6 separate regions of the Homo sapiens genome follow, and regions 1, 2, 3, 4 and 6 are each linked to region 5. The links are contacts of gene promoters, found by promoter capture Hi-C in blood cells and fetal thymus (Javierre and others, 2016). All regions are on one chromosome and are shown on one strand. Each heading gives the region's core, a stretch centred on a gene start or on the middle of the fragment in contact. The rest is flanking DNA. Distances are from core to core; before and after follow the strand shown.

The links. Contacts are between HindIII fragments. The CHiCAGO score rates a contact against its expected background, and 5 or more counts as called.
Region 1: a contact is called between the fragment with the promoter of ZNF607 here and the fragment with the promoter of ZNF432 in region 5, in 2 of 17 cell types (total CD4 T cells and activated CD4 T cells). The highest score is 7.4, in total CD4 T cells.
Region 2: a contact is called between a fragment that was not itself captured here and the fragment with the promoter of ZNF432 in region 5, in 6 of 17 cell types (non-activated CD4 T cells, total B cells, total CD4 T cells and 3 more). The highest score is 17.0, in non-activated CD4 T cells.
Region 3: the fragment with the promoter of ZNF571 here is called in contact with the fragment with the promoter of ZNF432 in region 5 in 3 of 17 cell types (non-activated CD4 T cells, total CD4 T cells and naive CD8 T cells); the score reaches 7.7 in non-activated CD4 T cells.
Region 4: a fragment that was not itself captured here is called in contact with the fragment with the promoter of ZNF432 in region 5 in 1 of 17 cell types (non-activated CD4 T cells); the score reaches 7.6 in non-activated CD4 T cells.
Region 6: a fragment that was not itself captured here is called in contact with the fragment with the promoter of ZNF432 in region 5 in 2 of 17 cell types (activated CD4 T cells and total CD4 T cells); the score reaches 6.9 in activated CD4 T cells.

What each region holds. Positions count from the first base shown.
Region 1 is chr19:37,716,876-37,721,248 of GRCh38, reverse strand. It overlaps ZNF607 (zinc finger protein 607), which reads left to right and starts at 1,488. Exons shown (of 5, transcript NM_032689.5): 1 at 1,488-1,980. RefSeq lists silencers at 1,727-1,836, 1,897-1,986. The HindIII fragment of the contact is 3,190 bases long and covers 1-2,208 here.
Region 2 is chr19:37,503,647-37,508,424 of GRCh38, reverse strand. It overlaps ZNF793-AS1 (ZNF793 antisense RNA 1), which reads left to right and starts at 1,338. Exons shown (of 3, transcript NR_110723.1): 1 at 1,338-1,586; 2 at 2,385-2,579. It overlaps ZNF793 (zinc finger protein 793), which reads right to left and starts at 1,486. Exons shown (of 8, transcript NM_001013659.3): 1 at 1,459-1,486; 2 at 22-160. RefSeq lists enhancers at 1,270-1,419, 985-1,776, 1,777-2,568. The HindIII fragment of the contact is 826 bases long and covers 2,346-3,171 here.
Region 3 is chr19:37,592,481-37,597,098 of GRCh38, reverse strand. It overlaps ZNF571 (zinc finger protein 571), which reads left to right and starts at 2,307. Exons shown (of 4, transcript NM_016536.5): 1 at 2,307-2,358. It overlaps ZNF540 (zinc finger protein 540), which reads right to left and starts at 2,223. Exons shown (of 5, transcript NM_001172225.3): 1 at 2,004-2,223. RefSeq lists enhancers at 1,746-1,795, 2,026-2,145, 2,186-2,385, 1,982-2,664, 2,616-2,665 and 2 more. The HindIII fragment of the contact is 14,201 bases long and covers 1-4,618 here.
Region 4 is chr19:37,454,121-37,458,383 of GRCh38, reverse strand. The region is part of intron 2 of ZNF569 (zinc finger protein 569); the gene reads left to right. Among named protein-coding and RNA genes, the nearest start is that of ZNF569, 11 kb to the left of the region's middle. The HindIII fragment of the contact is 609 bases long and covers 1,817-2,425 here.
Region 5 is chr19:52,046,445-52,050,791 of GRCh38, reverse strand. It overlaps ZNF432 (zinc finger protein 432), which reads left to right and starts at 1,954. Exons shown (of 5, transcript NM_014650.4): 1 at 1,954-2,097; 2 at 3,732-3,938. The coding sequence starts at 3,924. RefSeq lists an enhancer at 1,582-2,171. The HindIII fragment of the contact is 4,326 bases long and covers 1,354-4,347 here.
Region 6 is chr19:37,475,015-37,479,838 of GRCh38, reverse strand. It overlaps ZNF570 (zinc finger protein 570), which reads right to left. Exons shown (of 5, transcript NM_144694.5): 3 at 3,832-3,958; 4 at 3,405-3,500. Among named protein-coding and RNA genes, the nearest start is that of ZNF570, 8.1 kb to the right of the region's middle. The HindIII fragment of the contact is 1,736 bases long and covers 1,921-3,656 here.

The sequences.
Region 1 (4,373 bases), core at 239-2,738, about 14 Mb after region 5:
ATCATCTGAGGTTGGGAGTTCGAGACCAGCCTGACCAACATGGTAAAACCCTGTCTCTACTAAAAATACAAAATTAGCTGGGCATGGTGATGCATGCCTGTAATTCCAGCTACTCAGGAGGCTGAGGCAGGAAAATCGCTTGAACCTGGGAGGTGGAGGTTGCAGTGAGCCAAGATCGTGCCATTGCACTCCAGCCTGGGCAACTAGAGCAAAACTCCGTCTCAAAAAGAGAAAAAAGAAAAAGAAAATAATATGTGGAGTCAATTTAATCCATTGATCTATGTGTGGTATTTCTGAGAGATTATTCAGGAGATTCAGGAGCAACAAATCCAAGAACTAATTAAGAGAAGAAAAAGTGATCAATAAGTTCTTAAATTGTAACTTTAATAGTTTTTTTTCCTTGACTATTTGTATTTTTGAATGGTGATTTTTTAGTTTTGTTCCTTTTCCTCTTAGGGTATAGACAAATATTTTTTATTTTTAAATTAATTTTACTTATTTATTTTTTGAGACAAGGTCTTGCTCTGTTGCTCAGGCCAGAGTGCGGTGACACCATCATACCTCACTGAAGCCTGAACTTCCGGGCTCAACTGATCCTCCTACCTTTGTCTTTGGAATAGCTGGGCCCACAGGCGTGTGCCACCACACCAGGCTAACTTTCATTTTTGGTAGAGTTTGGGAGGAGGAGAGGGGTGTCTCACTATGTTTCTTAGGCTGGTTTTGAACTTCTGGCCTCAACTGATCCTCCTGCCTTGGCCTCCGAAAATGCTGGGATTAAAGGCGTGAGCCACCGTGCCCAGCCTGTATTCATCAATATTTTATTAAGCCAAAGAAACAGGAAATTCGGACTATTAAATATTTGTCCGTTTTAGCTGTTGTAAATATTTCCCCCAAATTTACTTACCTAAAAATTTTTCTTATTCGTTTTTTACCATTTGGAAATTTTGGATGCTTCTAAATAACTATGAAGATTTACAAAGTATTACATGAAGGATCAAAAAAATTTTTTAAATTTCTTATTTTATCTTCAAGAAGCCTATTCCAGAACAAAAATAATAAAACTATTTAGCAGTTATTTCTTCAGATGATTTTTTAGTCAAATTTTTAGTCAAATATATTCGTGTCCAAAGATGAAGAACATAATGTCATGTATTGAAGAATGTGATGGAACTTCAAACCCTCATATAGGACGTGAGTCCATTTACTTAGCGCTTGACGAGACAAGCTGGGCCTGTCGGGTGGTATTAAAAGTCCCAGTCCCATGTGTTACCAAGGAGGCCGGCTCTACCTCAGGAGCCATGAGGGTTTCGGCGCCCCACCCTGAGGAGCTCACACCCATCCAGCAGGTGATCCCTTCCGAGGCTACCTGGATCAGTTTCTACTCAGACTCGCCTCCTACTGGCCCTAAGAACGCACTAACTCCACCCTAAGCCTCAGGCCAGGGGCCCAGTAGTGGCCGATCTGCGCATGCGCACTCGAGGCAAGGCGGCCACTCCCAGAAGTCTCCGGGGCTCGAGCGGTGGGTGGGAGGCGCGGTCCAAGTGGTCGCTGCCGTATTTCTCGTAGGTTTTTAGGATTCTGGACTCCATTTCTCACCGGTACCTGCGGTCCTGACTGTTCTGGCTTGGACTACATATTACAAAGGCAACGGAGAAAACTTGGACCCCTGGCTCCGGTTCCGGGACCTTTTGGTTCCACCTGAAGAAGGCGGCGCAGGTCACTGCGGGAGCCTCTGCAGCCCCAGCCCGCCGCCCGCGTGGTACCCTGCGTGGCGGTGAGAGTGGGGCTGCAGGAGGCGCTCAGAGCGCGGAGGCCCCCAGGCGGGCCGGGCGAGTCTCCCGCCTCCTCAGGCCCTAGGGTGCTGGAGCTGCGGAGGAGGGGCCCGTCTCTAGGAGACAGGCGGGGAGCGTGAGAGACCGCGCAGCGGCGACAGGACCGGCTTGCCTGTGTGACGTGGGTGCAGTTGCGGGACTGTGAGGGGTGCGTAGTCGACCTTGTGTGACCTGTACATGCCGTGTGTGTCCTTTGTAAAGCGTGCTTCGCTGGGCTCTGTGGGGTCTATTGACCCTTGGCTCCAGGTTCCCTGCTGCTTCCTGTGCCTTCCTCAGCCTAGTACGACTACAACAGAGAAATGGTCCCAATGGGAAATCAGATACTGAGTCTTAGATGAAGATTTCCAGTGAGAAGAAACAGATAGGATGAGAAGCTTAGAAGAGTAATTGCCCTTAAGAAAGGTATGATAGATTCTGTTAAATAAAAAAGTATTCAGTGACACTTGTTAAAGCATGCAAAGAACCCTTTATTCAGGACCATGGTGGTAGGTATTGGGATCCCGGCTGTGAGATTTTGCAGTGGGTAACAGACATTGGGCTCAACTCCGAATTCAGCATGAACAAGTGGGAATTTATAGCCAAGAAGGTTAGGGATCACTGGATGAGAAATTACTAAGAGGAAATGTCTGGGTTAAGGAAGATTCTGACTAAACGCACCTAACAGGATTATTTCTGGAGAGAGAGACCTGGGGGACGGTGGAGGATGAAGATACGGAGGCGAAAGGGTCTTGCTAAACTGACTTAGAATAGTTCTTTGCTATAGCCAGATTTTACAGTGAAGTGTACAGATGGGCCTAGCTGAAGGTGTAGTAGCCTGACTAAAATTTGGTCTGGCAGGGTTTGTCAGTTTCGAGTGTAGGATTCCCTCCTGAAAAGGGTTGTTACTCCGCCCCCACCTCCCGGTTCTTGGAGTTTCATTTACATGTTTAACAAACACGGCCTTGAATTCTGACCCCAAGAACCTGCAGTGAAGGATGATTGCAGGTTCCATCCAACATACTTCCTTCTGGTCGTGTGTATGAAATTACGCGCCTGCAGCCTTGGAGGGGGGAAACATAAGCGCTAAGTATTATGAGGCAATTTTGGATATTCCGTTTTGGATTTCTGTAGATCAAAAGCAACAAGAATATGAACTTAGCCGTGATGTGAAGGAAGTGAGCCAGAATTTAAGTTTTCCAAAATAGGAATTCTCGGTCATTGGTGTACTGTCTGTAGACCAATGCCCTTATGGGCATAAGGGACATCACAAACCCCCTGAAATTCTATAAAGAATTCCTGTACATGTTTGTTAATTTGCATTTTTCTAGGATGTCCATAATCCAAATTATTTAGACTCAGGTTTTAGATCTGGAATCAAAGAGTTTTATACCTTTGAATGGTTTTGCAGAAAACTAATGAACGAGATTATGGGAATGGTTAAGAAAATTATACAGCGTCCAAGGGATTGGATATTATACAAATAATAAGATTTATGTTTGTAAAGAATCTGTCACAGGATAAATAGCTGTGATCTAATGTTTAACACTATTTAGAGTTACAGTGGTGGATCACAGTTCTCAAACTATATATGCAACTCTTTTTCTTTCTTTTTTTTTTTTTTTTTTTTTTTTGAGACTGAGTTCCGCTCTTGTTGCCCAGGCTGGAGTGCAATGGTGCGATCTCTGCTCACTGCAACCTCCGCCTCCCGGGTTCAAGCGATTCTCCTGCCTCAGCCACCTGAGTAGCTGAGATTACAAGCATGGGCCACCATGCCTGGCTATTTTTTTTTTTTTTTTGTATTTTTAGTAGAGACGGGGTTTCTCCATGTGGGTCAGGCTGGTCTTGAACTCCCAACCTCAGGTGATCCACCCACCTTGGCCTCCCAAAGTGTTGGGATTACAGGCGTGAGCCACCACGCCCAGCCGCAGCTCATTTTTTAAAAATGGAATTTTGGGCCTGGCACAGTGGCTTCCGCCTGTAATCCCAGCACTTTGGGAGGCCGAGGCGGGCAGATCATGAGGTCAGGAGATTGAGACCATCCTGGCTAACATGGTGAAACCCCGTCTCTACTAAAAATACAAAAAATTAGCCGGGCGTGGTGGTGGGCGCCTGTAGTCCCAGCTAGTCGGGAGACTGAGGCAGGAGAATGGTGTGAACCTGGGAGGCGGACCTTGCAGTGAGCCGAGATCGAGCCACTGCACGCCAGCCTGGGCGACAGCGCGAGACTCCGTCTCAAAAAAATAAAATTTAAAATTAAAATTAAACAAAGGGAATTTTGCAAAAACTTTTGCAAGGATTGTATCCAAAATGATTATTTAATTGGTTTTTCAGAGAGGAATGAAAGGGTTGTGGCTACATTTACTGAGCATATAATGTGTGCCCCAAATTATTGGACCTATTTTGTGTACCTGTTCCCATTAGATGTGCAGAAGCCATTTCCCTGTCCACTAAGGAAAGAATCTTTATAGTGAATTGTTTCTAGTTATGTAGAAGAAACACAGCTAAAGGCTGTTCAAGAAGACAAAGAGTTACATGTTTTAGTCACGCTGATTTTTCATTCTA
Region 2 (4,778 bases), core at 1,509-4,008, about 15 Mb after region 5:
ATTATCATTTTAGATACTTACTCAGTAAATTTGTTTTCTAACCACGGGCAAGGTCACATCCATCCCCGCTGTCACAGAGTCAGAATGGATTTCCAGAAACCAGCCTCACTCTTGGGATGCTGGCACAGATGCGTATGTCATTACCTTTGCCAGAAAGAGCCTTAAAGGAAACATTAGGAAAAAATATGCATTAGATCCCTAACAAGAATAGAAGCCACGTCTTTAGTAACATGTTACTTTAGATAAGTTTAGCACGCGATCCTTTCAAATTATTTTCATTATTGTAGAGAACAATAAAAAGGGTGTGGGTTCAAAAAAGAGTTTTCAGATGGGCCTTGGTGGAGAGGAACTGGCTGCTATTCAGCTAGGGAGTGTCACCTGAGTGAAATGTGTTCCCGCTATGCAGGCTTGCAGCCTCAAATCTGTGATTTTCCCATCCCCAATCTCCACATTTCAGGACCCTCAACACCAACCCCTATAAGTCTCCTAATCAGACACGCATAGTGCCCCCAATCACTGGCCTCCAATCTCCAACCCTCAGAGGTTTTCATAGTCACTGATATTCCCCTATGTTCAAATCTGACCAGGAGAGACTACAGGTCAGTAACTACAAAGAACACCGATCCGATCTGATTGCCAGTGAAATTACACAGCCCCCAATCATGAATCCACACTGATTGCCAATGATATCCCAACGACTGAGGATCAATTGTTGATTCTCACAGTCCCACTCCCACCCACAAGTGACAGTCCGAATCACTGAGCCTCATTGAGGCGTACCTTTAAGATAAGCACACTTGACTCTATTCTCCATTCCCTGATCTACAAAAGTCCAATCGTTAATACTCTCCGATCCTCCACCGATGATATGAAGTAAGTCTCAATCACCGATGGCCCAAAACATTTCTCCAAACATTCATCACCACTGACCTCCCTCATTTGAACCCCAAAGTTTCCACAATCACCAATTCCAGTACCCAAACTATTACTGCCCACAGAACTTAGAACCTCCGATCACTGATCCTCTCGGGCTCCGATCATTAACCTTAAAGATCTCTAAACCAGTGTCTGAAAAATCCCAACTGACCCCAGACCCATGAAGACCACTATTACTGACCCCATGCACCCTGAAAATCAAGACATTTCACAGAACTCGCATTTATTGATTCCCACACACTCCCAATCCATCTTCTTCAGAGACCGTGCCACTGACTCCCGCAAACCTCTGTCCGCCACCACTGAGGCCCCGCGAGGCTCAGACGCCGAATCTCTTAACCCTTCAGTTCCCTTGTCATTGACCCTCACGGGCACCCATAGCTGACCCAGTCGGCCACCGTAGTCGGCAGCTCACTATCCTCCACTAGTCCCAGGTTTGACCGTTTCTCAAACCGTGCCTTCCCATTTATGCTGCATCCGCGCCCTGAATCTGAAATTGGTCGTCCTGCCACGCCGCCTCACCGCGGTATAAGGTCGTCCCATCCTGAATGGCCGGTGCGCAGACTCAATTGCGACTTTGAGGCTGTCAGCCGCCACCCGGCAACCTTCCAGTGAACAGGATTCTGGGTTTCTCAAAGCTGTAATTGGAGGTATGATGGCGACGCCCACTTGACTCCTACCTGGGGCGGCCATGTTTAAAACTGTGCCGTAAAACGGATGATTAAGCCCTTTGCTAGACCAAAAGATAAGGCTATTTTAGGACAAGGAGAAGGAAGTGTCCCTGGATCCCTAAACAGAGATGTCGTCTCTGCTCTTAACTCAGCATCTCAGATGCCAAAACCTCCTGTGGCCAACATGGTGGCGCCCAGACATCAAAGCTGAGCTTTCTTTGTCTCCGGCAGCCTGGTAAGATGGCCGCGTACATTTTTACCGCTTCTTACGTGCAATGGGTGCAGCCTCTCCTAGGAGCTCCCCTATGGCAATGTGAAACTCTTTCTGAGCCAGCTCTAGGAGTTAGAGAGCAGCGAAGAGACTCGCTCTTAGGGAGACAGAGACAGCCTAAGGACGGGCGTGACTTCACGGAAAGGGCGGAGCCGCAAGGAAAGGGCGGGGCTGCCGCAGCGGGAAGAGATCAGAGTTCTTAGCGCATAATGGAAAGGAAATGTTGAAAGCAAGGTTTTTACCTAAGGAGGCTTGCCCGAGAAGCCGACCTGAGGAAAGAATGAGTGCAAGCAGTTTATTTGGTAGGTGGGGGATGGAGAAGTGAGACGGGAGCGATGGGAACGAATATACAGTGCATAGGTGAGCAGATTAGCTCTGGATCAATGAGGGCTCAGTCAGCTTGGGACCTCTGGGGGATTGTGTAGAAACCACTTCCAAGTTTTCACAACCACCAGGCCGATGAAGCTTACATATGTCTACACCATCTCTCTTCCTAATTGTTTTAGGGCCACTCCAGAGGTGTTAAAGCTCCAGCACTTCGAGCCTGCCTCGTGGGAAAGTCTTAGGCTGAGTCTGTAGGTGTCTGCAGTTAAGAAGCCAGCGGTCTGCATATGATTGCTCAGGGGTGGTGGCTGGGTCCAACAGCATTCACTACAGGCCTGCCTTGAATACCACCTAGCGCAGTGCTCCGCATATCACAGGTATTGGAACATCTCTAGAAAAGATTGCCTTGTCTTATGAAAATGGCTTTTTAAAAAAATCCTAATTCCAACTGGTCATCCTAGCAACTGATACAATAACTGACCTCAAAATGTTTCCCAATGATTCCTACCTCCTACTATTCACACTCTTATGTAGTTCCCTCCCACATTGTACCAGGGTTGGACTGTGAGACTAATAGAATGCAGTAGCAGTGATAGATGTCACTGCTGAGATTAAATATAATAAATGGCACCTTGAGTTCTGTCTTAAAGGCTGCTGCCCCCACTTTGAGAGAAGTTAGTTGCCATGTCATGAGGATACCGAGACAGCCTATGGAGAGGCCCAGGTAGCAAGGAACTAAGCCCTCCACCCAATAGCCTGGGAGTAGCTGGGGCCTTCCTATAACCAAGTGTATCACCCTTGGAAGCACATCTCCCAGCCCCAGTCAAACCTTGAGATGACAGCAGCCCCTGCCAATAGTTTGACTGCAACTGCGTGAGAGACACAGTCACAAGCACTCAGCTATAGCAGCTCCTATATTCCTCACCCTCAGAAAGTGTGTAAGATACTACATGTTTGTTGTTTTAAGCTTCTGAGTTTAGGGTAATTTGCTATGCATCAGTAGATAACTTCAATGCTGTGTTAAAATGCTACAATTGACATTTCTTCTTTTTTTTTTTTTTTGAGACGGAGTTTCGCTCTTGTTGCCTAGGCTGGAGTGCATTGGTGCAATTTCAGCTCACCGCAACCTCTGCCTCCCGGGTTCAAGCGATTCTCCTGCCTCAGCCTCCTGAGTAGCTGGGATTACAGGCATGCACCACCACGCCAGGCTAATTTTGTATTTTTAGTAGAGACGGGGTTTCTCCATGTTGGTCAGGCTGGTCTCGAACTCCCGACCTCAGGTGATCCGCCTGCCTCGACCTCCCAAAGTGCTGGGACTACAGGTGTGAGCCACCGCGCCCAACCCCATTTCTGAATTCTTTAAATAAAGTTCCTAAAGTTGCGAGATTATTCTGTCAGAGGAGATTATTACCAGTTTCCTCTTCTTCCTTGCGATGGAAAAATTAAAGGCCTATGGCTCTGCTAGATTTTTAAAATTTAACAAAGAGGTCAAGGGTCCTTGCTTCATTTGATTTAATATAAGTGGTTTATATGACAACACTTTGAAGTGATTATAGTAATTAATTTAAAATCACCATTTAGGCTGGGCATGGTAGCTCACACATGTAATTCCAGCACTTTGAGAAGCCAAGGTGGGCAGATCACCTGAGGTCAGGAGTTCAAGACCAACCCGGCCAACATGTTGGAACCCCGTCTCTACTAAAAATACAAAAATTAGCCGGCATGGTGGACGCCTATAATTCCAGCTGCTCGGGAGGCTGAGGTAGGAGAATCACTGAACCCAGGAGGTGGAGGTTTCAGTGGGCCAAGATTGTGCCATTGCACTCCAGCCTGGGTGAGACTCTGTCTCTAAAAAAACAAAAATAATAATATTGAAGTAAAATGAGTATTTATAAAGTGCCTATTAAATGCCTGATTGATCACTGGCCTGCTCACTTCAAGGGCTGTTCTTATTCTAGGATTAGACCAATAAAGCAGCCACAACTGGTAAATTGTCACTCATGAAGGCCGAGGGAAAGACAGCCTTTGAGGGTCTTTTGCTGGGAATTAAACGTTCTGCCTCAAAAACTATACATGTCATTTCCATTCACTAGTCTTTGAGACGTCACATGGCCACCCAGGAGTGTGATAGCAGACATGTAATCCTACCATAATTCTGGGATGGGAAGAGCTGGCGATATTTTGGAATAACATTAAAGACTGCCACAAACATTGTAAAGATAGTGTTATCATCACGCTTCAAAAGAAACTGCAACACGGGGGTGAGGTGACCTGTCCGTAATCATTCAGTGAGTAAATAAAGCAACAAGGATTCAGAGCTGGGTGTTTCTGTGTTATTCAGAAGTAAAGGATCATTAGCATCATTATTAAATTTTACCCAAAATTTATTAGAACCTAAATATATCTCAGCAACTGAATTGGGAAAAAGAAGACTGAGTACTCGAGTAAAAATAGAGGCTACTCAAGGAGCTGACCTCTTGATTGGGGAAGGAGTACACATGGAAAGAGGAAACAGGTAAAAGAAGAGTACACACTGTAGGACTCCAGTCATGAGAAACTCAAGAACAGGCAAAACA
Region 3 (4,618 bases), core at 1,058-3,557, about 14 Mb after region 5:
TATTATCTCCACTTCAACATCAGAAAAACAGAAACCTAAATCCACTGTTAATAAACAAGACATCTGAGTTCTGAATCCACAATTCTCCAACTACAAAGCCAGTTCTTTTTCAACTGTGCTCTTGTCACTGATACCCAGAATTTCTTATTACGCCTAATAAAACCCAAGCGTGAATAATGACTTGGGTTTAATGACTAAAAGCTATTAAATGTTGCTACTTATTAAGATAATATACGTTAAAGTGGCAAATAGCATTTTATATTTACAACACGGGAACATTGAATAGACTGATAATAACATGTTAAACTGGAGTAAAATAGATGCCCTCACGCCATGTTATACACTGGTGCCACCTTAAAGAGGGTAAATTAGAAATTTATATTAGCAGAATTTAATAATATGAGCCAGATGTTTCAGTAATCCCACTCCTATGACCCTGTCTAAGGAAAATAATTATATATGTTCACTAGGATATATGCAGACAGGTGCAGATAGACTAATTTTAAAATGGAAAAAGCTAGATACAAACATAAATTAGACTTCAATAAAGAACAGGTTAAATAAATTCTAGTGTATCCATATAATAGAAAATAAAGTAGCCATCAGAAATAATATAGATTGGGAGTCTGCAAACTTTTCCTGCAAAGAACCACATAATAAATATTTCAGGCTTTGTGGGCCAGCTGGAGGATCCCTTGAACCCAGGAGTTCGAGACTGCAGTGAGCTATAACTGCACCACTGCACTCCAGCCTGGGTGAGACAGTGAGAGCCTGTCTCTTTAAAACAAACAAATACAGTATCTGCAAAGTGCAATAAAATGATGCACAATAAAATGAGGTATGCCTACATTATCATTAATGTTGACGCGAATATCTTCAAACAAGAGGGAAGAAAGTGCATTTGTCTATAAAAGGGCAACACAACAGATCCTCGAGGTGATGGAAATGATCTATCTTGACTATCAATGTCAACATCCTGGTTGTCATATTATACTACAGTCCTGCAAGATGTTGTCATTGGAGAAGACTAAGTTGAAGATAACACACAATGTCTCTATTATTTCTTACAACCTCATATGAATCTACAATCATCTCAAATTTAAAAAAAAATTTAAGGAAGTTTTAAGAATTTCATTTTCAAATATTTGCTAGATGAATTAAGTTTTTACCCCCTTCAAATCTTGAAGGCAAATTAATGCTCCAGGTTGTACTGTTCAATAGGAAGACTATTAGCCATATATAGCTGTTTACATTTAGATTTATTAAAATTGAACACAATTTAAAAAATTCGTTCCTCAGTCAAACCAGCCACATTTCAATTTCTCAATAGCCATATGTAGCTAGTGGCTACTATATTGGAGAGCACAGATATAAAAAATGGAACTCAGTTTTGCAGAAATTCCTATTAAAAAGCATTGTTCCAAAGCGTTACACGACTGACACCCTCACTTTACAGGTGAGAAAACTGAAGCCAGGAGATATCACTATAATACAGCGCTGCACACAATCGTGCTCATTCTCACCATATTATGCTCACACACTTCTTTCCCCACATTCACTGCCACAGGCGAACTCTCAATGAATCATTCACTACATTTATATAATTTCATGGGAATCTATTTTAAATTCATGACCATGCAAAGAAAAATCAATTTCTTACAGGTTATAAGATACTCAGTCGCAGGCTGAATCTGATTAAACAGACATCAGTCACCCTCAAAGCTATAATCAAACCATTCCCAAGACCCTTCCGCACACAATACTAAATGCGCCACTAATAGCCTCAAGCATAATCTGACGCACATCACACAGGCATGGCCACTACCCACTCTGCACCCACAGAGGACACTCGGACACGCGCGCGCACAGACCCACACACACACGCACACACACACACATGGCCGCAAAGAATGCGTCACACTTCCGAACCCCGTTGAGCAGCAACCCGGTATCGTGGCCACTGCGTCACGGCCAGAGCTGTCAGAGAGAAATCCAGACCTTACCTGACAGCCTTTTGCAGCTCTTCTAGCCCGGGATGACATTCCCCTGAAGGCACCACGGCAAGACTCAACCTCTTTGTGTGAGATTCTCTGGAATTTCTGGGGCGTTACTTGAGTATAATGAAATAGGGTAGGCTCGGACCATAGTAGGGTAAGTCCCACAGTTCGAGCAAGGGAGCCTCAGGGATCGTTCTGTTCTGGAGCGCCGGACCCGATCTTAGCTGCTGGGCCTGCGCAGACACGATCCGGCCGGTTTCCAGTTGTAGACTACATTTCCCGAAGGCCCCCGCGTCGCTGCGCAACGTCGTACACTTACGCTGTTATGTCTTGACGCACGGAGCTTGTCTGCGCCGGCCAGGTGAGTGGGCGGCCTCACCGGGAACCGCTCGCAGCTTTTGGGTTGCTTCATCGAAAAAGTAGTTCTTGTATGGTGCTGGGAATACCGGTGTCCTGGCTGGGGCTCGGTGCTGACAGGAACGGGACGGTGCTCTGGCTAATTACTTATGGAAGTCGGCCTTGCGCTTGCGGAGGGGTGTCGGCACCGTCACTTTGGTTCTGGCAGTGGCGGGGGTGTGGTGCTGCTAGTTGTGTTCCTCCGCACCGAATTTATGAGTGTGCCCCTGGAGCCCCTGCCGCGGACAAAATCGGCACCATAACTTTGGGATAGGGAGGCTAGAAGGAGGCGGGTGTTACTAGTAGTGTTCCTCCGCCCTGGACGTGTGCGTGTGCGCTTGTGCGGCCGCGGGGTGGGCTCACCTGCCGCCTGTTAATGCTCCTAGCGCTTGGCCCCTCCCGGGCCGCAGTACTCCTCGTGTGACACGGACATCATTAAGCCAGCTGAGAATCGTGCGGTTACAGCTGCTGCAGTTTCTTTGCAGAGTAAGAGGCTCTTTTTGAAGTTTCCCTGATGGTGAGGCTTTACCCCTGGAAGTGTCTTAGGAAGAAGACCACTGTTAAAGATGTCCTATTCTAGCTTGACAGCCCTGTGGGGAAGACTAATCCCTTTCTAGAGGTTGGTGTTATCCTAAATTGTTTCGTCTGCTCCGAGAGCTCTGATGTTCTATGATGCTTATTTCTTTTCTCGGTTCTGCGTTTTCCAAGAGAGGCACCCAGAGGAAAAGAATATCGCACTTCTGAAAGTCTTGTGTGAAGTTCCTGTTTTCTTTCTAACCTCAAATTTCTTCCTTTCCGAAACGTTTTCTACCTCCAGCAACATCTTCCTAAGGAAGAACCAGCCATGCTAGTGACTGGTCCTTAGGCACCCCATAAATGATGCTGCGGGGATGGGATCATCAGTTTAGCTCTACTCCCCAGCCACACTACACCTCTCCTTTCCACCCAATGATACAGCAGTCCTTTCTGGTCTAAGATTTTTTTGTTTGTTTGTTTGCTTTTTGAGACGGATTCTCGCTGTGTCGCCCTGGCTGGAGTGCGGTGGTGCGGTCTCGGCTCACTGCAAGCTCCGCCTTCCGGGTTCACGCCATTCTCCTGCCTAAGCCTCCCGAGTAGCTGGGACTACAGGCGCCCGCCACCATGCCCGGCTAATTTTTTGTGTTTTTAGTAGAGACGAGGTTTCACCGTGTTAGCCAGGATGGTCTCGATCTCCTGACCTCGTGATCCACCCGCCTGGGCCTCCCAGAGTGCTGGGATTACAGGCGTGAGCCACCGCGCCTGGCCTGGTCTAAGGTTTTGATGAAAAATAACTGTACTTTCTGGGGGAAATTTGAAGAGTTTTAAAATTTTAACTTTATTGTGGATGTTTTCAAGCAGGCTAAAGAATAATACGAACCCCAACATGTTCAACACCTAGCTGTAATTAAAAACATTTGTAAATACCTTTGTATCAATCCTTCCCCGTTTTTTCCTATAGTATTTCAAAATTGTATTTTATCCTCTTATAAGCATATATTACCAAAAAGGACATTATATTTTAAAATAACCATGATGCTGTTATACCAACATAAAAAAAAAAACTAACAATAAGTTTAAAACAATAAATTTGTTTCTTATGTTGGTGTAACAGCGTGGTGGTTATTTCATAATCTTGTATACCCCCATATTCAGATTTTCCCAATTATTTCAAAGACATATTTTTACAATAGGTGTGTTCAAATCTGGATCCAGATAGAGTCCACACATTGCATTTGGTGGCCAAACCTGTTAAACTTACTTAATGCATGATAGTTTCCCTCCTGTGTTTTGTTTTGGTTTAATTGGTGCTGTTGATTTGTAGAAAAACTAGATCATCTGTCCCGTAGAATATTCTGTATACTGCTTTTAGCTAATTGCTTCTTTGTACTGTCTTATAATTTGTTTTCCGTTCCTTCATATTTCTGTAAACAGGCAGTTAGATCTAGAGGTTTGATGGAATTTGGATCAGATTTTCCCTAAATCACCTTTAATTCATAGTTGGTGCTGTGTACTTCCTATTACATCACATCATGAGGCCCTTACAGTCTGATGTCCCACTTTCAGTGATGTCATATTGATGTGTTTAAATGCTGTCCATTTAATCCTTTCCTTTTTTTCACCTAAAGCATGCATTCTCAATGAGGGTGGAGGATATCACCTTCCAAGTGGGTGAAACTTGGTTTTTGAGAAGGAAGAGGACAAAAACT
Region 4 (4,263 bases), core at 872-3,371, about 15 Mb after region 5:
TATTTTAAGAAAGGTATGTAATTATGTATGGCTGGAGTTTACTTTCAAGGAGTGAAAGATGAAGCTAATGAGGTATTCAGAAACAAAATTATAAAAGTTGTCATTGAAGTAATTTAAGGTAATACTCATGTAACAAACAAGCACATGTACCCCTTGAATCTAAAATAAAATACACTTTTTAAAAAGGACTCCATAAAGAATATAAAAATATCAGGCTGGGCATGGTGGCTCAGGCCTATAATCCTAGCACTTTGGGAGGCCAAGGTGGGCAGATCACTTGAGCCCAAGTGTTCAAGACCAGCCTGGGCAACATGGCAAAACCCCATCTTTACCAAAAATATCAAAATTAACCAGGCATGGTTGTGCATGCCTGTGGTCCCAGCTACTTGGGAGGCTGAGATGGGAGAATCACTTGAATCTCGGAGATGAAGCCTGCAGCGAGCCATGCGCTCCTCCAGCTTGGGCAACAGAGCGAGACTCTGTCTCCAAAAAAAAAGAATATAAAAATATCTAAGATTTTCCAGTTTTATTTTGTTTATTCTTTTTTTTAATACTTTAAGTTCTAGGGTACATGTGCACAACATGCAGGTTTGTTACATATGTATACATGTCCCATGTTCGTGTGCTGCACCCATTAACTCGTCATTCACATTAGGTATATCTCCTAATGCTATCCCTCCCCCCTCCCCCAACCCCATGACAGGCCCCAGTGTGTGATGTTCCCCATCCTGTGTCCAAGTGTTCTCATTGTTCAGTTCCCATCCATGAGTGAGAACATGTGGTGTTTGGTTTTCTGTCCTTGCGATAGTTTGCTCAGAATGATGGTTTCCAGCTTCATCCATGTCCCTACAAAGGACATGAACTTATCCTTTTTATGGTTGCATAGTATTCCATGGTTATTTTGTTTATTCTTAAACATTATATACCAATTCCACATTCCATCACTCTCTTTTTCTTTCATATTTCCACATACCTCAGTTTCTCTGTTACCATAAGCCAGTAAATTTTGGGCAAGGGGAAAAAAAGAAGTTTAAACAGGGGAGTGTTACTTAAGATGCATTTTATAAGTATAGAATTCTCGATTAAATCCTCAATTTATTTTAAAATTGGTTTTAAAGGATATTGTTGCGACAACTAGGGAAGTATAGAGATAATATATTTTATTGTACGAATGTTTAATATCTTTGGTGTGATAATGGCATTGTGTTTATGTAGGAGGCTTCTTAGTTTTTGGAGGTACATTCTGAAAGAGTTAACGTGAAGTTTGTGTATATGTTTTTAGAGAAGGAAAGAGAGGTAGAAAAATGTGGCAATGCTGAATATAGATTAAGGGTTTTAGAAGTATTCTTTGTACTGATCTTCCAACATTTTTGTAGTTTGAGTTTTGTGTTTTTTGTTTTTTGTTTTTTTTTTTTTGAGACGGTGTCTCCCTCTGTTGCCCAGGCTGGAGTGCAATGGCGCGATCTAGACTCACTGCAACCTCCGCCTCCTGGGTTCAAGCGATTCTCCTGCCTCAGCCTCCTGAGTAGCTAGGATTACAGGCGCCTGCCACCATGCCCAGCTAATTTTTTGTATTTTTAGGAGAGGTGAGGTTTCACTATGTTGGCGAGGCCAATCTCGAACTCCTGACCTTGTGATCCGCCCACCTCAGCCTCCCAAAGTGCTGGGATTACAGGTGTGAGCCACTGTGCCTGGCCTCGAGTTTTTAAAAGTAATAAATTTTGGAAGAAAATTTCTAGAATGTATACATACAAGTATGTTTAGAGTGAACTAGAGGGAAGGAAAGTAGGAGGCAGTTAAACTGTTTTATGAAGCTTCAACTCCCTGTCTAAAGAAAAAGTTTTCTTAATGGAGAGCTCTGTGACTTAATGTTTAACTAACATAAGTGGGAGCTTCCTTCTCAAACATACGGGCCCTAAGAGAGAAGTAGAAATGTTAAGAGATAAAATATAAGACACTTAGATGATCAGTTTAAGGGATAGATCATCCTATTCTTAGGAATTATACGTAAGAGAAAGTAGAGAAAATGAAAACAAAAACGTGCAAGAAAATTTCCTAGAAGAGAACAATAAATATACGGATTGAAATGACCGTATGTCCGTGATATATACTGACCAAAAGCTCAGTGCGATTAATGAGAAAAACCCACACCAACTATCGGAAACCAATAAGAGAGAAGAAAGGCCAAAAACTTTCTACAGAGGAAAAAAAAAGTTGGAATGATCTAGAAGTAGAATGTCAATGTACAGCAACACTAGAAGTCACTGGAGCCACAAAGTGAAGTCACATTGCTTTAAATTTCTAAGGAAAAACTGTTTTTCTGAGAAGCCTACAGTTAGCCAAATTATTATTTGAGTATGAGAGTAGAATAAAAATGTTTTCAAACATGCCAACCAAATTAAAGAGAAAACAAAGTAAAGAAGCTTTTGAGAAATTAAATTTTTGATTCCTGTAGTTGCAACTGGCTTTGGCAACTTTAGATCCCAGATAGAGCGGTACCCACAGAGTTTAATGCTGTTCTTCCAGCCATCAGTGGGTGCCCTTATATAAGTGGGTCCAGCCCTTATATCCTTCTTTCATGTGTCATTGGCCCTTTTCCCTTGTGATTTAAACATGTGTTGCAAAGTGGTGTGGTAGGACCTGGAATCCGGGGACACATGGAAATAGTGGAGAGAAGACTAGGAAAGAGTTGGGGGTGGGGGAGAAAATACTGTTGTCCACCACAGAGCCATATCCCCAGTCTGTGAGTTAGTTCACGCTAACTAGAGAATTTCTGCCTTGAGAGATGCTGCCAGGTGTAGAGCTTTCAATGAGTTTTAGGTTTTTGGCAAAACGTGGATTCAAGCAAGTGGAGTGTTAAAAAATATATATTATTATGTAGATATGGCAGTTGCTGTAAGCATTTTAACTGTATCAGAGCTCATTTCAGGAGGGAATCATGCATGATAGTCCAGAAACTAAACAAATTGATATGGCTGGAAGTAAGTTCTTTGCAGTGGAAAGAAAAATAACATTTGTTATGAATATAACATTTAGTTTGTGAATTTATTTCTAAAGTATTTCCTCAATTAGCTTAAAGTTGAGTTCCTCCAGTATACTGAATTCCGTCTTTTCTGAGGCCTTACCAATTGCTACTGCTTTGCTTGTAATGCTTTCCCACTCCCACTCCATCCTAGCTAATTTACTTGACTTTAAACTGTTATCCTAATCCTAACTTTATTTGCAAGGTATTTTTGAGCCCCATGACAAAATAAACTGAAGGACTTCTCAAAAGTTTATTGTAATGAGGGGACTTTGGGTTTCTCCTTAGGGATGTAAACAGCTGGAAAGAACTTTGCTTCAATCATTACAACAAGGAAACTACAAACTTCTACCGTACAACAAGGAAATGGACAAACTACAAAATAATTTTTCTAGGACCCTTCAGAGAACTGAGGTCACAGGGCAACCAAGTAATCTTAAATCTGGGGAAAGAAAGATGCCAGCTGAGAGAAACAGGACTCAAGCTTTACTTACCTGGGATGGACTCTGCCAGACACCATATAAGCCAGTAAGAAAATACAGCTATCAAGTTTTTAAACAAATTTTTAAAGTGTGAATGTCAGCTAATGAAAGTGTGAAACCACTGGGGGACTTGCAAAATTAGGGAGGTGGGGGTTGCAGTCTCTTGTAGGCTTTTCCTCTGGGAATCCCAACAGGCACTCATAGGGAAGATGGGAGTGAATCCTGAGAAGCCTTTCCTTGTGGTGTTAGCTGGGGGAGGGCAACAGCAGCCCAAACCCATCTTCCCTATCACTGCATAATGAAGAGCAGCAAAAACAGTTGCCTTAGGAGACTTGTAGAAAGCTATTGCAGTTTAGGAAAGGGACCTGAAAAAAAGTAATATCTCTGGGAGTAGGGGAGGAATATGCTCTAGGACTAGCACTACAGCTGGCAGAGCGGCAAGAGCACTTGTGAAGGCCACATCCCCAAGACTTAGGGATATGGTGTCTGCCTAAGACTGAGGCTTAGTGAGATCATAAGAGAATGCTATCCCTCCGTCTACTCAACCCCCACCAAGATAACAAGAATCAAATAGAAGCAATAGTAGAGTACAGCTAGGAAGCCTGCAAGAGAGATTCTCTCTGGGGAGCAGCACAAATGGAACACCCAAAACTAAGGGAGAAACATGCATTGAGAAAACAACCATGGGAAATCAACCCTTACCTTAAACACAGATATTATTAGAGGATATTATTGAAGCCTGGGGTACACTCAGTGTAA
Region 5 (4,347 bases), core at 705-3,204:
GATCTTTTATAAGATGGGAGAAAGGAGATGAAATAGAAGAGAGATTGACTTGGTCCTTCAGGATTGGAATCTGATAGATGGGACACTAGAGGAAGTTTAATGTAATCTTTTTGGCTATCTAGATCTAGTTTTTAGGCCCTGGCTAGAAGCCAGTTAGTTCCTCTTCTAGAATGGCCAATTAAGTCTACAATGCCGGCCACAGTGAGCTTGTGGTATTTAGCTTGCCCTAATCCTATCCCCATATCCTCAGCTTCAAGGTAGCCTTGAAAAGCAACCACCTTTTAACAACAGTAACAGTGAATATCTGCACCCTAGCAGAATATCTGCACTTGAGGAGGTAGAAATGGCTCTGAAAATGGCAGAAATGGCTCTGAAACACCCAAAAGCCTCCATCCCCACAGAATGTTCACTACTAAGCCTGCTTTGCAGCCTGCTGAATAGGTCTATTCTCATAGTATTTCTCTATTTGGCTTGACTTTATTTATGTGAACACTCCTACCCATAGGGCACTTGTCAAAAAACAATCAGCAGCAATTGTTTAACACTAGAGTGTTTAGGGGAGTGACAGTGTGTGTCTGCGTGATAGATGGAAGTAATAAGAGGGCACAGGGGAAAGGGGCCATACGCATAAGATGATGGAACAGAGAGCCTGGAGGGTGGGGTATAGAGAGTGTAGGGGAAGGGAGAAGGCAGACAGGTAAAAGGAAAAAGAATGTTAAGTGTTGTTCAGCCTCAAGACTGACATGATGAAAGTACCTTTATTGTGGTTTTTGTAAATTAGAATGCATGCTTTATTATTAAAAAAAACACAATTGAAAATGTTAAGGACCTTTTCCTCCTTGCTTCTTATAAGAAACCATCATAAGACATAACTTGTAATAATTCTGTAGAAATATACATATATAAAGATATATGTATATATATATTTTAAAATAGTATGTTTTTATTGCAAAATATTCATTAGTGTCATCATATCATAGCCAGATCTACAACCCCAGAGTAATTCCCATGGTTATGTTACATGGCAAAAAGGACTCTGCATTGTAATTAAGTTTATTAATCAGCTGACTTTAGCATTGGGAGATTATTCTGGATTGCCCAAGCACTTAAGAATAGGAGAAACCGGAGAGATGCAGCAGCAATAGTCAGTGGTTTCAAATATGAAAGGGATTTCACATACTATTGTTGGCTTTAAAGATAGGAAGTCGTGGGGGCAAGGAAACTCTCTAAAGGAAATTAATCTGGCAACAACCTAAATAATTCTAGAAAAGGATTCTTTTCCAGAGTCAAGAACAGAGCCAGGTGGTTCTTCTCTTCTAAAGACATTTCCATGGGCCAGTTCCACCGCAAGCTTCTCAGAGAGAATATGTTCTGCCGTACGGACACCGAACGTCCCCTAAGATGGCCGCCCCCATGATGCTCTCCCCTAAGGGCTCTGGCTCCGTTACCTGCAACGCACCGCTCGCTTATTTTTTGTTCTAGTCTCTCTTGCTTCAGTTTTTATACGGCTTCTAAAACGCTTCGCATTTACAATAGTGACTGAGGTGCCCAGAGGTGACTTTAATTTTCCATTGAGCTGAGACGTCACAGCCATCATAACCGCTAAGAAGGGATGCCGCGCCTTTGTGGTAATAATGGGTTCTGGCCTTTGAGAAGTTTGCGCCGTTCACTGTCCCCTGCGAGGAGAAGACTAACTTATTTCTGTTCCGTGTCTGTTCAGAGGACTTTACCCCCACGCCGTGTCTGCCTGTGTGAACTCAAGCCTCTGATAAGCTCTCCATTTTCTGCCAGGGCTGAGGTGTCTGGAAATCGGACAGTTTAAGAGGCCTCCGTCCACCGCGTCTCCCGGCCGCTGTGCCTTCTGTACGTCACGTACTCAAAGATGGCCGCCCCCAGAGCGGCGAGGCGACGCCGGCGCGGACGCGTCTCCTCCTGAGGAAAAGCCGGAAGGCCGCATTCCGCTCTCCATGGAAACGCGGCTGACCGTCTCTGGAGGTTTAGAGGGGGAGGGAGTTGGGCGAGGGGCCCAGAAGTGGAAGAAGTTTAGGGAAGTAAGTTCAGCTTTTAAGAGGTCGCGGCGATTCCAAGGAGAGTCAGGTCAGTGTGTGGGTCAGGGCGTGGAAACGTGGTGGGAGGGAGCTTTCTGAGGGCGTCTGCGTTGTTGGTGGCGCTATATGGTGGAGGTAGCGCGGGGGTTGGGGGAGGCGGGGGCGGGTGTTTCCTTTTGGAGGGGAGCTGGTAGGAGTCCCTGGTGGGTGTCTGTGATAGGATATCTTTGGGGTCCCTCATGGAGGCTCTGGTGGTCAGTGATTAAAGGCCTGAATAGATCAACGACCAAGAGTACTGAGGTCAGGGATTGTGGTCCTCGCGGGTCACTCCCCAGTGGGGCTCAGTGATTGAGAATCGATGGGGTGGCTTTTGTCAACGAATGTGACTTCTGTTTCACATTCTGGATTAATCTGAGGCTTAGTGATTGATGAATCATTAAGGGAATCCAGTGTACGTGTGTGTCTATTCCAGGTTTTCCTATTTTATCTGGCGGGGTGGTGGTCTTTTGTCTAGAGACAAGTGAAAGCCGAAGTCTTTTCACAAGAGCCCTGGCTGGTTTTGTGTGTGTGTGTGTGTGTGTGTGTGTGTGTGTGTGTGTGTGTGTGTGTGTGTGTTGAGCTCAAACTTTGGCTGGAACAGACTTGATGAACGTTAACATTTCCTAAAAGTTTCAGGTCCGAGTACCTCCTCCACAATGAGTTTTCTAATCCTCTGGCTTTCCACAACAACCCATGCTCTTGAACCTGCAGAAAATGAAAGTTTTTTGGGGGTGAAGGGGGGCGGATGAATAGGCTTTCTATTTAACATTATGTTTTTAAATTACTGCGCACAAATTAACAAGAGCCTATTTTTATCCTTCCTCTTGCAAATGTACTGCATATTTTTATGGGTGTTTCAGGTTTTGTATGTTAGTATATAAAGGCGGCTATTTTCCCAGTATTTATATTTTTGAATTGTTTTCTAAATTTGTATTTATAACTCGTATTCCTTTTCTCTGTCTCCCTCTTTTTTTCTATGTGTTTCTTGTTCTTCATATTGAAGTGTGTATATAAACATTTTTTTTTTTTTTTTGAGATGGAGTCTTGCTTTTGTCGCCCAGGCTTGAGTGCAATGGCTGGGCTCACTGCAAACTTCGCCTCCTGCGTTCAAGCCATTCTCCTGCCTCAGTCTCCGAGTAGCTGGGATTACAGGTGCCTGCCACCATGCCTGGCTAATTTTTTCTATTTTTAGTAGAGACAGTGTTTCACCATGTTGACAAGGCTGGTCTCGAACTCCTGACCTCAGGTGATCTGCCCATCTCGGCCTCCCAAAGTGCTGGGATTACAGGTGTAAGCCATCATGCCTGGCCGTATATAAACACTTTTAAATATATATAAAGACTTTTAAAGAGGTGTGAGAGTAACATTGTATAAAGGAAAAAATGTAGTTTCTCACCATCCATATGGCCTGATTTAAAAAACTGATATGAGAATTACCTACTGCTTAGGCATGATGCTATGTGGATTCTCCTTTGTGACCTCCCCTTTCATCTTCATGTTACTTCCACACTTCACCGAAGAAAGGCATTTGGCCTACATTGAGGGTCTTGTGTTTCCTTGGTTTGAGAGAACCAAATAAAGAGACAAATATTCAGGGCCACGTGTTAAGGTGAATGTACCCCTGAAAGTTGTTTTGCTCTTCAGTCCACAGGTCCTGGCTACCCTGGGAAGAGACAAGAAGTAAATGAAGAAAGAGGAAGATTCCAGGACCTAGATATGATTTCTGTGGACACCCTTCACTGGTGACTGAAGTTTCTAAATAGAAATTTAAGGCAGATCCAGAGGAGACAAAGACAGAGTATCCCAGGTGCTGGCCATTTCCCACAACAGAAGAAAATGATCAATGCCCAGGTGACTTTTTCTCTATTTTATTCTCTCCTTTATTCCATAGTGGATTTGTAGAGACCCGTAAGAAATCATTTCAGAATCTAGAGAGAAATAAACTTTAAATCTAACTCCAACATCATGGCAAAGTAAGATCAGGAATATAGTGTTTATGTGATTCCTACAAAATGACTGATGTTGGAAAATAATGCCTGACTAGAAGATCCTTTCCATTACCTTAGCTCTCAGTTTGCATCTGATGTCTCTGACAGCCAGTACAAGAAAGTCACACTAAGTTATACAGTGACTGTGGGGAGAAAGCAGACAGGTTCCTCAGGAGATTATTATTTCATGGCACTTAGATCTCAAGAAAAATTTGCTATTCTTCCCAGAGGTGATATGGTGAACAGTGTTTTGAACTAGCTTTCTAATAAAG
Region 6 (4,824 bases), core at 1,539-4,038, about 15 Mb after region 5:
AAAACTACATCAAGTAAATATTAACAAAAGGCAAATATAGCTATAACAATATTAAGTGAATTCTTTTTGCTTAATCAGATAGTCACTAGAATTAAAGAGAGTAACAATAATATAAGAATTCACTAGAAAAATAAAACATTCTAAAAACATATGACCAAATGAAATACCTTCAAAATATAAAAAAAACTGCTGTTACAATTACAAGAAAAAAATTTATGTATTTACCACCAGAGTAGAAGTTTCTTTAACATGTCTCTCAGTAATTGATGGCTCAAAGACATTTTTTTTAAATTCATAAGGACACAGAAGATTTGACCAGCACAGTTAATGAGCTTAACCTAATGAGCAAATATCAAACACTGTATTCAACAACCAGAAAATACATATTATTTTCAAGGACACAAAGAATATTTACCAAAACTAGCCCTAAGAAATAAAGCAAGTCTCAAAATACTTTCAATAAATGTATATTGAAGAGATCCCATTCTCTAACCATAATACAATTAAACAAGTACCAAACAAAAGCCTTCAATTTCAAACTTCTAAATAATTCACGGATCAAGAAATCATTGAGAACCAGAAAAATAATGGACAACTTCATCTAATAAGTTTGAAAACTTACATCAAAACTAAAAATATTTAGAAAAAAATACCCTAATTGCCTCTAGGAGAAATAGAAAACCTAGAATTTTAGAACATATCAAATTGAATGATTAGTTTAAATTCTTTTAACAATAAAAATTCCAAGCCAAAATGAACAAAGTTCTACCAAACATTCAAAAAACAAATAATTTTTATTTTACACAAATGTTTCTAAAGAAGAAAAAGAGAATTTACGAGACTAATCAACCTTGATTCCGAAATCTGACAAGAAAGGAAAACTGAAGATCAAATTCACTAATAAATACAGATGCAAAACACCCAAACAAAATATTGGCAAACAGCAACTAGCAAAAAGTGGAAAAGATATAAAGATGGGTTTAACTTGGGAATGCAATGTTGGTTCAACATTTGAAAATGTATGTAATTTACCACATTAAGATGTGAAAAACTAAAACCTATTAAGAGGTAAAAATCACCCACAGATGGAGAAAAACATTTGTTAAAACTCAAAAGCTTTCCACAATGAAACTCTAGCAAACAGGAATGAAAGGGTATGTACCAAAACTTTTAAGCATCAAAATTATTAAAAAACAAAATGCTAAAGTATTCTTATTAAGACCGGAAGTGGACAAGAATGCCTGTTATCACTACTTCGATTCATATTATACTGGAGATACGACAAAGGCAACAGAAAAATAAATTAAGGTATAAGAATTGAAAATGAAGAAACTACCATTATTCACAAATATATCTACTCATACATAAAATCCAAACATATTTAAAAATATTATTAACAGGAGAGATTGGCAAGGTTGCTGGATATAAGGCCAATGCATACGAAGTTAATTTCATTTCTATATATGAGCAACAAACAGAAAATATAGATAACATTTAACACAGCAACAAAACTAATATGTTTAATGTTTACAATTTAATCTAACAGAAGATGTGCAAAGCCTTTTTTGGAGAAAATTATAAAACACTGAAAAAAGTGAAAAAACCTAAATAAATGGAGAGCTATACCATGTTAATGAATTTTTAAAATTTCCAGAATTGATTACAGAATAAATAAAATTTGAATCAAAAGTTAAAATTTGAATCAAAAGTTAACAGCATTTTGTTGTTTTCTGATAGAAATTTACAAGTTGACCCTAAACTTTATATTGATGTCCAAAGGGCAAACAAGAAATTCTAAAGAATTTAAACAAGCTGTAGAGATTTTCCCTAGCAGATAATTATCCTTCTAATAAACTATTTTTATTAAGACAGTGTGGTACTGGTATAAGGAAACAGAGATCAATGAAACTGAATAAAGCTTAAAGTCAAACCCATATATAGACTAAAACCTGGTATATTAAGAGGTAACATTCAGAAAAACAGGCAGAGGGAACACTTATTCAAAAAATATCTGGGACCTTTGGTTTTCCATAAGATACAGAAATTAAATTCTTATTTAAAATAATCCTCAAAAATAAGTTCCAATTGGATTATGGACCTACATATAAAAGGACAATCTTTAAAAGACTATTTTCAGATATCTATATGAACTCAGAACATAGAAAGGTTTCTTAAAGTATCAAAAACATAAGCTACAGGCTGGGTGCAGTGGCTCACGTCTGTAATCCCAGCACTTTGGAAGGCTGAGGCTGGCGGATCACCTGAGATCAGGAGTTGGAGACCAGCGTGGCCAACATGGTGAAACCTCGTCTCTACTAAAAATACAAAAAAATTAGCCAGGCGTGGTGGTGGGTGCCTGTAGTTCCAGTTACTGGGGAGGCTGAGGCAGGAGAATCACTTGAACCCAGGAGGCAGAGGTTGCAGTGAGCCGAGATCATGCCACTGTACTCCAGCCTGGGCAACAGAGCGAGACTCTGTCTCAAAAAAAAAAAAAAAAGTTACAAATACACACACACACACACACACACACACACACACACACACACACACGACAACCTCCCCCACAATGAGCACCTTAGGAAAAATCACACATGCAACCTGTTTTTCCTTTTCTCTCGCACCACAACAATAAACACAGAAGGCTTCTGTGACTGAATGTGGGGGTTTCTCTCCACCAACAAGCAAGCAATGAATTCTGCAGTGGGTGTCCTCTACCTCAGCTCTATTTTGATACTGTCTACCTGGAGATAGCATCAGATCCCTCAGGTTGAGGACTCAGTCCCCAAGGCTGCCTACACTTCTGATGCTCTGTAGAGCTCAAAAATTTATAAGAGGCCAGGCACAGTGGTTCATGCCTGTAATGCCAGCACTTTGGAAGGCTGAGGCAGGCAGATCACGTGAGGTCAGGAGTTTGAGACCAGCCTAACATGGAGAAACCCTGTCTCTACTAAAAATACAAAAATTAGCTGGGCGTGGTGGCATGTGCCTGTAATTCCAGCTCCTGGGAAGGCTGAATCAGGAGAATTGCTTGAACCCGGGAGGCGGAGCTTGCAGTGAGCCGAGACTGCACCACTGCACTCCAGCCTGGGTGACAGAGCGAGACTCTGTCACAAAAAAAAAAAAAAAAAAAAAAGTTTATAAGACTACTACAAGATTTTTTAAAGACTGAGAGGCTTATGAAACTGAGAGGGGATGGGACTTGTTAGAAAGGAGATAGGAAAGTAAGAGAAGGGAAATAATTAAAAATAACAAATGTGGGAGAACATCCTAAATGGCCCCAAATTTTTATGAAAACCTAGAACATTTGAGAAGAATTTGGAAGCCTGAAGAGTGAAGAGGTGATACCTTTGAGTCAAGCTGAGCTGTCACGTGCAAAGATTTTTGCCAATTTCCTCTTCACTAACCTGAGCACAAGCCTTTTGTCAGCTCTCTCTTCACCATCCAGGGTGCTTTTCCTTGTTCCAACAATAATATCACACTTGGTTTGGAAAAGCAAAGTCCTGCAAATACGAAAAAAAAAAGTAGAGTTTTGTCATGCTGTGGATATTCCAGAACTCACATTCAATCCTTAGCTCATCAGGGAAAAGGGAGTTTACAGTAAGCAAAAAGAGAAATGTGTAAAGGACATGTATTAGAAGGATAAGGAAGATGAAGCTTCAGGCACAGGCCAAGAATATGTTCACTGCCAAATCCACAAACACTAAGCCATTTGTTTGGCATAGGCAGCAGACATTCAGCCAAATTTTGCAGATATTATCCAAAAATTCACAATAGTGGTAGCAAAGAGCCCCTTTTGAGCAGAAGCTCAGTTTTGCAAGAAGATATCCTTACCCAGTGATACCAAGATCCTGTAGTTCTCTAGCATCACATTACTGTACAGATGTCTTTGAGAAGAATCCAGACAATCCCATTCCTCTTGGGAGAAGTCTACAGCCACATCTCTGAAGGTCACCAACTCCTGAAATGAAATAAATGGAAGAACCTTATCTCTTACCATATTCACCTCATTTCCTCTGCCCTAGGCACACTGGGCTCTCTCTGATATTACATCCTCAAATATGTAACCATGTTATCATATTTGTACTCAGGGCCTTTGTATATCTCAGATTATTCCAGTATAAAATAGCACTGCTTCCACCCCAATTCCCTATTTCCTAACCCTCCTTTATTTTTCTCCACTGCACTTAATTATTTTATTCATTGCCTGTTCTTCACCCTCCTCAACTAAAATTTAAGCTCCATGAGGGCAGAGTATGTTTTGGCTTTGGTCACTGCTTTATCCCCAGGTACAGAATAGAACCTGGCACATGTGAAGTATTCAAATTCTGACTCAGTTGAATTAATCAATGAGTGGTTTGAAGAAAATTTCAAGAAGCTAGAAAGGGATCAAAAACAATACCAGAAAGTATTCACTGTATCTCTGAAAACTGTGCTAGACCAAGCAGAGCAGAGCATCAATTCCATTAAAATTCAAATACTTTAATCCAGAGTTCCCAAAATTTTGTGTAAAGAAATGGGTGTTCTACTCATAATATTGCTTCTGCCTACAGGGGTTAGAGAAAGTTCTTAAAAACTTGACACTGAGCTGGGCTCACGCCTGTAATCCCAGCACTTTGGGAGGCCAAGGCAGGTGGATCACCTGAGTTTAGGAGTTTGAGACCAGCCTGGCCAACATGGTGAAACACTGTCTCTACTAAAAATACAAAAATTAGCCAGGTGTGGTGGCACATGCCTGTAGTCCCAGCTACTCCAGAGGCTGAGGCAGGAGAATCGCTTGAACCCAGGAGGCGGAGGTTGCAGTGAGCCAAGATTGTGCCACTGCAT